3 separate regions of the Homo sapiens genome follow, and all the other regions are linked to region 1. Evidence: promoter capture Hi-C in human tissues and cell types (Jung and others, 2019). All regions are on one chromosome and are shown on one strand. The core of a region is centred on a gene start or on the middle of the fragment in contact, and the rest is flanking DNA. Distances in the headings are between cores, read along the strand shown.

Region 1 (2,556 bases), core at 28-2,527:
GTTGGTGCAGTCATTGTAGAGGGTCTCGAAGTCCTTCCTGGAGATGAGTTTGCAGCGGTTCACTCCTGGCTGGATGGCGCCCAGTCCCCTCAGGATGCGAACTTGTTCCACATTGCACACCACCGGCGTGATCTCCAGCCGCTTCAGCTTGGTGTAGACCGTATGCAAGCCCCCCACCAAGTGCTTCAGGAACAGGTCGAAAGCCTGGGGCAGGCAGATCAGCTCGCAGCCCTCCACCGTGAAGGAAGCCACTTTGGCCCCCCTCAGATCCACCATTTTGCACTCATTATTCTGAGGGGTGTTTTCCACTGGGGACGGGGTTGAGTACACGGGTTTCCCGGGGAGGGGGCCGCAGCTGCTGCTGCTACTGCTGCTGCTGCTACTACTGCTGCTGCTGCTGCTGCTGCTACTGCTGCTGCTGCTGCTGCCGGTGCTGGCGTTGATGGGGGTGCTGGAAGCGACGCCGCCGCCAGCGCTGATGCCGCCGCCGCCGCCGCCGCTGCCGTTGCTCGCGGCCGCCAGGTTGGGGTTGCAGTTGCTGCCACCGCCGCCGCCGCCACCGCCGCCTCCGTTGCCGCTGCTGCCGCCGCCGCCTCCGCTGCCGCCGCCGCCGCCGCCGCCGCCGGTAGAGGTGACTGTGGCCGCCGCCGCCGCCGCCGAAGCGATGGGCTCCGGGCGGAACAGAGTTGGCCCAGAGGACGCCGGGGGTCCGATGGAAGGAGCCGGAGACGAAGTCGCCGAAGAGGTGGAGGTGGTGGTGCCAGAGGAGGAAGCAGACGTGGAGATTGGGGGTTGAGGGGGGACCAGCTGGGTCGGAGGGATCAAAGCCGCCGGCACTGCCATGGTCACATATAAGGGGAAACAGACGGAGGAGAAGCGAGAGGAAAAGTTGCCACACACCCCCGGGAGGGGAAGGGGAAAAAAGGGGGGAGAAGGAGCGAGGGGGGCAACAACAACTCCGGGAGAGAACGAGAAGGAGAAAGGGAGAGAAGGGGGAGAAAAGGAGGTGAAGGTAATAAAGAGCGAGCGCAAGAGGGGCGAGCACGAGAGGCGCTCTGGAGAGGAACGCACAAAAGTGTCCCGCAAGTCGAAATGCGAGTCCTCTCCGGGGGCTGGGATCGAGGGCTGGTTTGGGGGTGGGGGTGGGGCGGGGAGGGTCGGCTGTTGTTGTGTGGGTCTCGCTCTAGCACAAAGTTAAGGATGAAGGTGAAAAGGAGGAGGTTTGAAGGACTTGGGCTCTCCCTGGCAAGTACATTGATCAAAGATTGAGAGGGGAATGACAGAGAGAAAATGAGCTGAAAAGTGCAGGCTGCCGGCTGGACGAGTTGTTGTTGTCACACGGTGCAGAGGGGAGGAGCTCCGGAAACTTGAAATACCCTTTGAAGCCGCAAAAACCTCACTCACTAGTATTAACCCAAATTATCCAACCAGGAACTCGGAGCAGAGACTCCGAGAGCGCGAGACACTGGAGAGGGAGCGTGCGAGGAAAGGAGGAGGGGAGGGGGAGGATACGGAAAGAAACTGTGGGAGGGACGGAGAGGAAAAGCCGGGGACACAGAAGTGGCGATCGGAAAAGGAGAGGGAGATCATCTACTTCTCTTCTACTACTACCGTTAGATTGCATGTCTCACATTCCATTTCGTCCGCGGGGACTGGTAATTTTTTCCAAAGCTTCTAAACAATCGCCCGCCAACTTAAAGAGGAGCCTGAGCGCGCCGAGCTCTCTCCTTCCAGGATTTAGGATCCATCTCCACGCGTTTTGGCAATGAGCTAGAAACGAAAACACAGCCCCCACTTCACGATTATTCAGAAATTATTTTGAGGAAAATTCACATGTAAGCAAAGCGTAATGTTCTTTTGCATCTGATTGTTTATTTCTCTACTAAATTATTTATTTATATAAAGATAGTGAAAATTCCAGGACAGTTTTCAAGTGGTGAGAAGAAAGTCAGTCCGAAATCGCTTAAGAATAATGGAAAGCTCTGTATTCAATTCCATATTTCCTAATAGGTTGTGGAAAGAAATGCTTGCCTTGATGTGGATGATTTAGAATAACTTCACTGTCTCCCCAAAAGCCAGTCAGAAATACCTGTTAAACCTAGAGCTATCAAGGAGATAAGGTATCCTTGAAGATTTAGAAAGTGGAAAAAGGGTTTTCTTACCCAAAACTCTATAATTAATTCACCTGTCTTACACAGTAACCAACTATCCTCATGTCCTTTAAGACCCAAAGCCAATTGCTAATGTGTTTTTTGGACAACACAATAGTTTTTTTTTTTTTTTTTTCATGTTTGAAAAGTGCTGCTGTAGTTTTGGAAAGTCCTTTTCAATTTGTCAGTAAATATATGTTTTGTAAATAATGGGAAGAACAAAAACAAAGCTCACTAGTTGACTTGTAAAGACTTGGGTAGCTGTGCTTAAAACAACATGAGGCTGAGTTTAGACTGACTCTATTCCTCCTTTCCTTCCTCTTTCCTTTTCTTTTCTTTTCTAACTTGTTGCACTGAAGTATTTATTCAAGGATTTTTGACTAACATATCATTTGAATATGGGTCA
Region 2 (2,556 bases), core at 32-2,531, 840 kb after region 1:
GAGTTCAAGACCACACTGGCCAACATGCTAAAACTCCATCTCTACTAAAAATACAAAAATTAGCCAGGTGTGGTGGCTCACACCTGTAATCCCAGCTACTTGGGAGGCTAAGCCAGGAGAATCACTTGAACCCAGGAGGCAGAGTTTGCAGTGAGCCAAGATCGTGCCATTGCACTCCAGCCTGGGCGACAGAGTGAGACACTGTCTCAAAAAAAAAAAGAAAAGAGAAAACATCGCGTGAACCTGGGAGGCAGAGGTTGCAGTGAGCCAAGATTGCGCCACTGCACTCTAGCCTGGGCGACAGAGCAAGACTCCTCTCAAAAAAAAAAAAAAGCTTTTTCTCTCTCCCACGTTAGTTCCCCTAGGGGTTCCCTAGTTAACCACATTTACTGCTAAATCTTAACATAGATTCTCAAACCTTTCCAAAACTGATGAAAGTGACAATGCAGGGATCATCATAATTTATCACAATTATTTGTATCTAAGTCATGCTAATGTCTGGTACATTGAAAGGTCAGGTTAATACCAGTTTTTCCTAAAATCCTAGGGCTCCCAGGGTCTTGCATTTTAACATGAGTGGTATTTTTGTGAAATTAAAACACTTTTGTCTTTGTTCCATGCAAAACGCCTCCCTCCCTCCCTCTCGCTCATTGTCTCTGAACTTGGCCTTGATTGACAAAATCCATTTCTATTAGGTAAAGCTGGTGAAAGCAGGAATGGTGTTTATCCAGGGCTTAAATTAAATCTTACAGAGCTTTTTCTCTGACTGCCCCTAGCTCCCTACAGTTTTCCGTCAGTAGACTTCCAAGGAAGCTTTCATTTAGCCAGCTGTTTGCTCCTATTTTACATGATGGTTCTCGGTGTTCAGCAGGAACAAAGATCACGGATATTCCCATTTGGGTTTATCAGAAGCAACTGAGAACAACGAGCTCTTTTTATGTTGAAAATAGAGATTTAAAATTTATTCATAATCTTTACTTCTTCTCCCAACACATTCTCATCCCCATGGGCTCCTTTCTCTAATTAGCTATGCAAGTCTTGACACTAAAATTTAGCTACATGTTAATCTTTCATTTTTATTAGTATGGTGTCTTTATCTTCCTTCCTATATAAGCACAGTATATGCTTATATTTAAATACATTATATGTTTCCAAAAATGAGTACATTAAAATGACAACTTATAAAAACATTCAGTCTAATTCTATTGGTGAGAAAAAAAAATACATCTTAAATATGTCACTTCACAACCACTGAGCCACTCCTGAAATGAAGTTACTAGGTAGGTCTAATTTATACAAAAGAAAATGGAGTTGAACATTTATGAAGCTCCTACTATGTGCCAAGTGGAATGCTATGGATTTTATATCCATCATCGCCATTTAATCCTCACAGTGCTGTGAGCTGTTGTGTTGTTATTGTCAGACTTGGAGAGGGCACAACGAGTCCAAGCCTCCTGTCTGACACCAAAGCCTGAGCTGCCTACTAAATTATATTAGAGCCAACAGGAATCTTGGGGATTATCTAAGATAGTGGTTTTCCAAAGTATGGGATGAAATGAGGTGGTACACAGGGACATTGCATTTAAAATGCATTAAATACCACAGTGAAGAAGTTGATTTCAATACTGTTCTAATCCTTCTGGCGACATCTAGAGGAAATGCAGTTCCGTGTTCTGACACTTGCTCATCTGCTTTACTTTTTTATTTTTATTTTTATTTTTTTTGAGACGGAGTCTTGCTCTGTCACCCAGGCTGGAGTGCAGTGGTATGATCTCAGATCACTGCAACCTCCACTTCCCAGGTTCAAGTGATTCTCCTGCCTCAGCCTCCCGAGTAGCTAGGATTACAGCTGCGCACCACGATGCCTGGCTAATTTTTGTATTTTTAGTAGATGGGGTTTCACCATGTTGGTCAGGCTGGTCTCGAACTCCTGACCTCAGGTGATCCGCCCGCCTCAGCCTCCCAAAGTGATGGGATTACAGGCATGAACCACCGCGCCCGGTGCTCATCTGCTTTTCTACAGAAGGAAAAGTAGGTGTTAGAATCATAGTTTTAAAAGACAATACCTAGCAAAGATATAATTCCATATTTAATTTTAATTATTTTTATAGCTATGGGAAAATAATGCTGGTTTTTCCACTTAAGAAGTCATGGATATTTTAATTCTCAAAGTACATGCAAAATAAAGGTATTGCTGTTACAATAAAAAGGCGATTTGCTGGTAGGAGAGTAGGTAGATTCACCTCTAAAAAAACAGGTGAAATAGTTTTCCCACATATGTGAAAGTAAAATTATCTGAACGACCTCTTTAAAGGCTTTTGATATAATTCTCCAAGTGTACATCTGGCGATTTACTGCTTTAGGTAATCAGAGGTCATAGTGTGGACCGCTTCTGATATAACATGCATGCATGTTCACTCAGCTTCTGGGGAGCCATAAGATACCTCAATATTCTGGCCTTTCGGCCGGAACCGCCATCTTCCAATAATTCGCCAAAATGACAAACACAAAGGGAAAGAAGAGAGGCACCTGATATACGTTCTCCAGGCCTTTTAG
Region 3 (2,556 bases), core at 25-2,524, 540 kb before region 1:
TCAGTGGAACATATAAGGTCTAAATCAGAAAGTCACATACCCCAGATACTGTTTTTCAACTTCTTCAGTCATATAGATTGCCCTGAATTGCATAAAACATTTTTATCTTGCAACTTACTTAGCAGTTCCTTGGGCTGTCTAATGAACTAAAAGATTATCATTATTGTTAGGTGCACAGGAGTGTAGGCTACATGGCACACACTGTTGATTTGATACCCTCTATGATGACAGTATATGGTTCACCGACTTGGTTAAACAGCACATCAGCAGCAGTGATGGGTGATCAATCTCATTCCCCATAGCATTGCTCCCCAAAGAGTCATTATTGAGAATAAAATGAGAAAAGGCTATCAGAGGGAATCATTGGGTCTATGGCTTAAAAAAAAAAAAAAACTAAGAAAATAAATGAATAAGAAGAGTCTTGGGAAAATGCATTTTTTAAAACCTCGTTATAAAGAGAGGCAAAGGGACTGATTAATATTGTGGAAAATGGCAACTTTATTTTCATACTTACCACAAGTATGCATCATTGTCAAGGACTCAAAGCAGCTTATTATGCTAGCATATTTACATGGAACTTCCATTTCATTACTATATTCATTTAAAAAAATAACTTAAAAGATGCACACAAGGTATCAGAATCTCAACTACCAATGGCCAATACCTGGTACAAATGGAAAACTAAGTTTAATTTTCTAAATTTAAGATTAACATTCTTAATAGTAACATCATATGAATTTTTGTTTTGCTGTTCTATATCAAAGAATGAAAAATCAACAGTGTAACTAGAATAAAAAGCGAATTCTAAAATATAAACTTATTTCTAAAGTGATTTAGTTGAAAAAATCTAATTCTTATTTTTTCCTTTACAACTATACAGGTTGAGAATTTTAATAAACATTCCTAGTAAGGTACAATAACTGGAACTAATATTTTTCCCATGTGAATTTCCCTTATAGGAACTTGATTATCTTGTAAAGCAGAGAAAAATTGTTAGGGAATGTTGTAATTCAGAAAATGAAAATGTTCATTGTAATAACTCACATTTATTTAGTTCTTATGATGTCTCAGTTACTTGCTAAGAATTTTACATAGATTCTCTCATTTAATCCTCATAGTATCTCTGAGGTAGTTTCTATCAGTTATCTGTTTTACACATGAGGAAACCGAGACCTAGAAAAGGATTAAATAGCTTGTTTAAGGTTATAACATTTGTAAGAGTTGGAATAACAAGTTGAAACAAGAGAGACTGACTTTAAATTCTACCTTATTCAATACCATGCATTTTTACTTATCTTGAAAGTTTGCTTCAAATTTGCAGAGAACATTGCTTTTATTTCTAGGAACCAAATTTTCTGAATCTCATGGTAGGAAATATCATTTGGTAAATGAAAGACATAACTTTAAAAAATATTTAAGTTTTACTCACCCTCCCCGCTTTTTGTTTTGTTTTGTTTTTGTTTGTTTTTATTTTTGTTTTTCTATTAAGTTAGTTACTCTCAGTACCGTTACAGAAAACCCTTATCAAAATGTCTTACAATTAGGAAATGTTAGTGTTTTACATAAAAAAAATTAACAAAGCTAGCTCCAGGGCTAGGTGAATTTAACAGCTTCATGACATAACCAGGAGCTCAGGTACTTTCTATATTATCCCATTTGTTTATTTATTTATTTGAGGCAGAATCTCTCACTCTATTGCCCAGGGTGGAGTGCAGTGGTACAATCATAGCTCACTGCAGTCTTGAACGTCTGGGCTCAAGCAATCCTCCCTCCTCAGCCTCCCAAGTTGCAGGGACTACAGGTGTGAGCCATGCCAACCTTCTTCTTTATTATCTATCTTCCCATTCTCCCCAACGTGACCTTCTTAGATACACAAGATGACTCCAGAAGTTCCAGATATATCCAGACATGATAGTGTGCAGCAAAAAAAAAAAAAAAAAAAAAAAAAAAAAAAAGAGACACCTTTCAAAGAGTCTCCTGGAACTTCTCTTATGTCTCTTTGAGCAAAATTTTATTGCATGTCTGTGTCTATACCAGTTCTAAAACAAGAGAATGGAACCACCATAATCAGTAAGCCCTGTATGATTCAGCTCTTGCTAGGAATGGATGAGACCTCTTCTTCCAAAGGAGAAGGCCAACTTATGACAGGTGGATTCCAGAACTAAATTAGGCAACTTTATAAAGAAGAAAGGGCAGAAAGAATGTAAATAATTGTAGTGTCCAATGAAAAATGGCATATAGATTAAGAGCATGGATTGGATTTAAACAGGTTGGATTCATATTATTGTGCCGTAATTTGTAAGTGATGAAGCTATGTGGCCTTTTGAAAATTTCTTAGTCTCTCTGTGCCTGTCTCCTCTCTTGTAAAGTAAAATCCATAACAGTAACTATTTCCTAGAGTAGTTTTAAGGTTGAAATGTGTTAAAATGTGTATAGCACTGAGAACAGTGCCTAGCCCATATGATAGCATCTACGTCTGAAATTTCCAAACGTATTTTAAAGCTCACATTATAGGAGTTAGTAGTTTCTGGTCCAGCATGTTAGCAGCTTGGAAGA

What was found. The method cuts DNA at HindIII sites, captures the fragments that hold promoters and counts their contacts. A contact is called where the count stands out against the background at its distance.
Region 2: a contact is called between a fragment that was not itself captured here and the fragment with the promoter of DACH1 in region 1, in 1 of the 25 tissues and cell types used here (dorsolateral prefrontal cortex).
Region 3: a fragment that was not itself captured here is called in contact with the fragment with the promoter of DACH1 in region 1 in 1 of the 25 tissues and cell types used here (lymphoblastoid cells).

Annotation. Positions count from the first base shown.
Region 1 is chr13:71,865,927-71,868,482 of GRCh38, forward strand. DACH1 (dachshund family transcription factor 1) reads right to left here and starts at 1,278. Exons shown (of 11, transcript NM_080759.6): 1 at 1-1,278. The coding sequence starts at 843. The HindIII fragment of the contact is 6,446 bases long and covers 1-2,556 here.
Region 2 is chr13:72,701,196-72,703,751 of GRCh38, forward strand. It overlaps the pseudogene RPL21P110. Among named protein-coding and RNA genes, the nearest start is that of MZT1, 25 kb to the right of the region's middle. The HindIII fragment of the contact is 4,439 bases long and covers 1-2,556 here.
Region 3 is chr13:71,329,117-71,331,672 of GRCh38, forward strand. No RefSeq gene overlaps it. Among named protein-coding and RNA genes, the nearest start is that of LINC00348, 320 kb to the left of the region's middle. The HindIII fragment of the contact is 8,737 bases long and covers 1-2,556 here.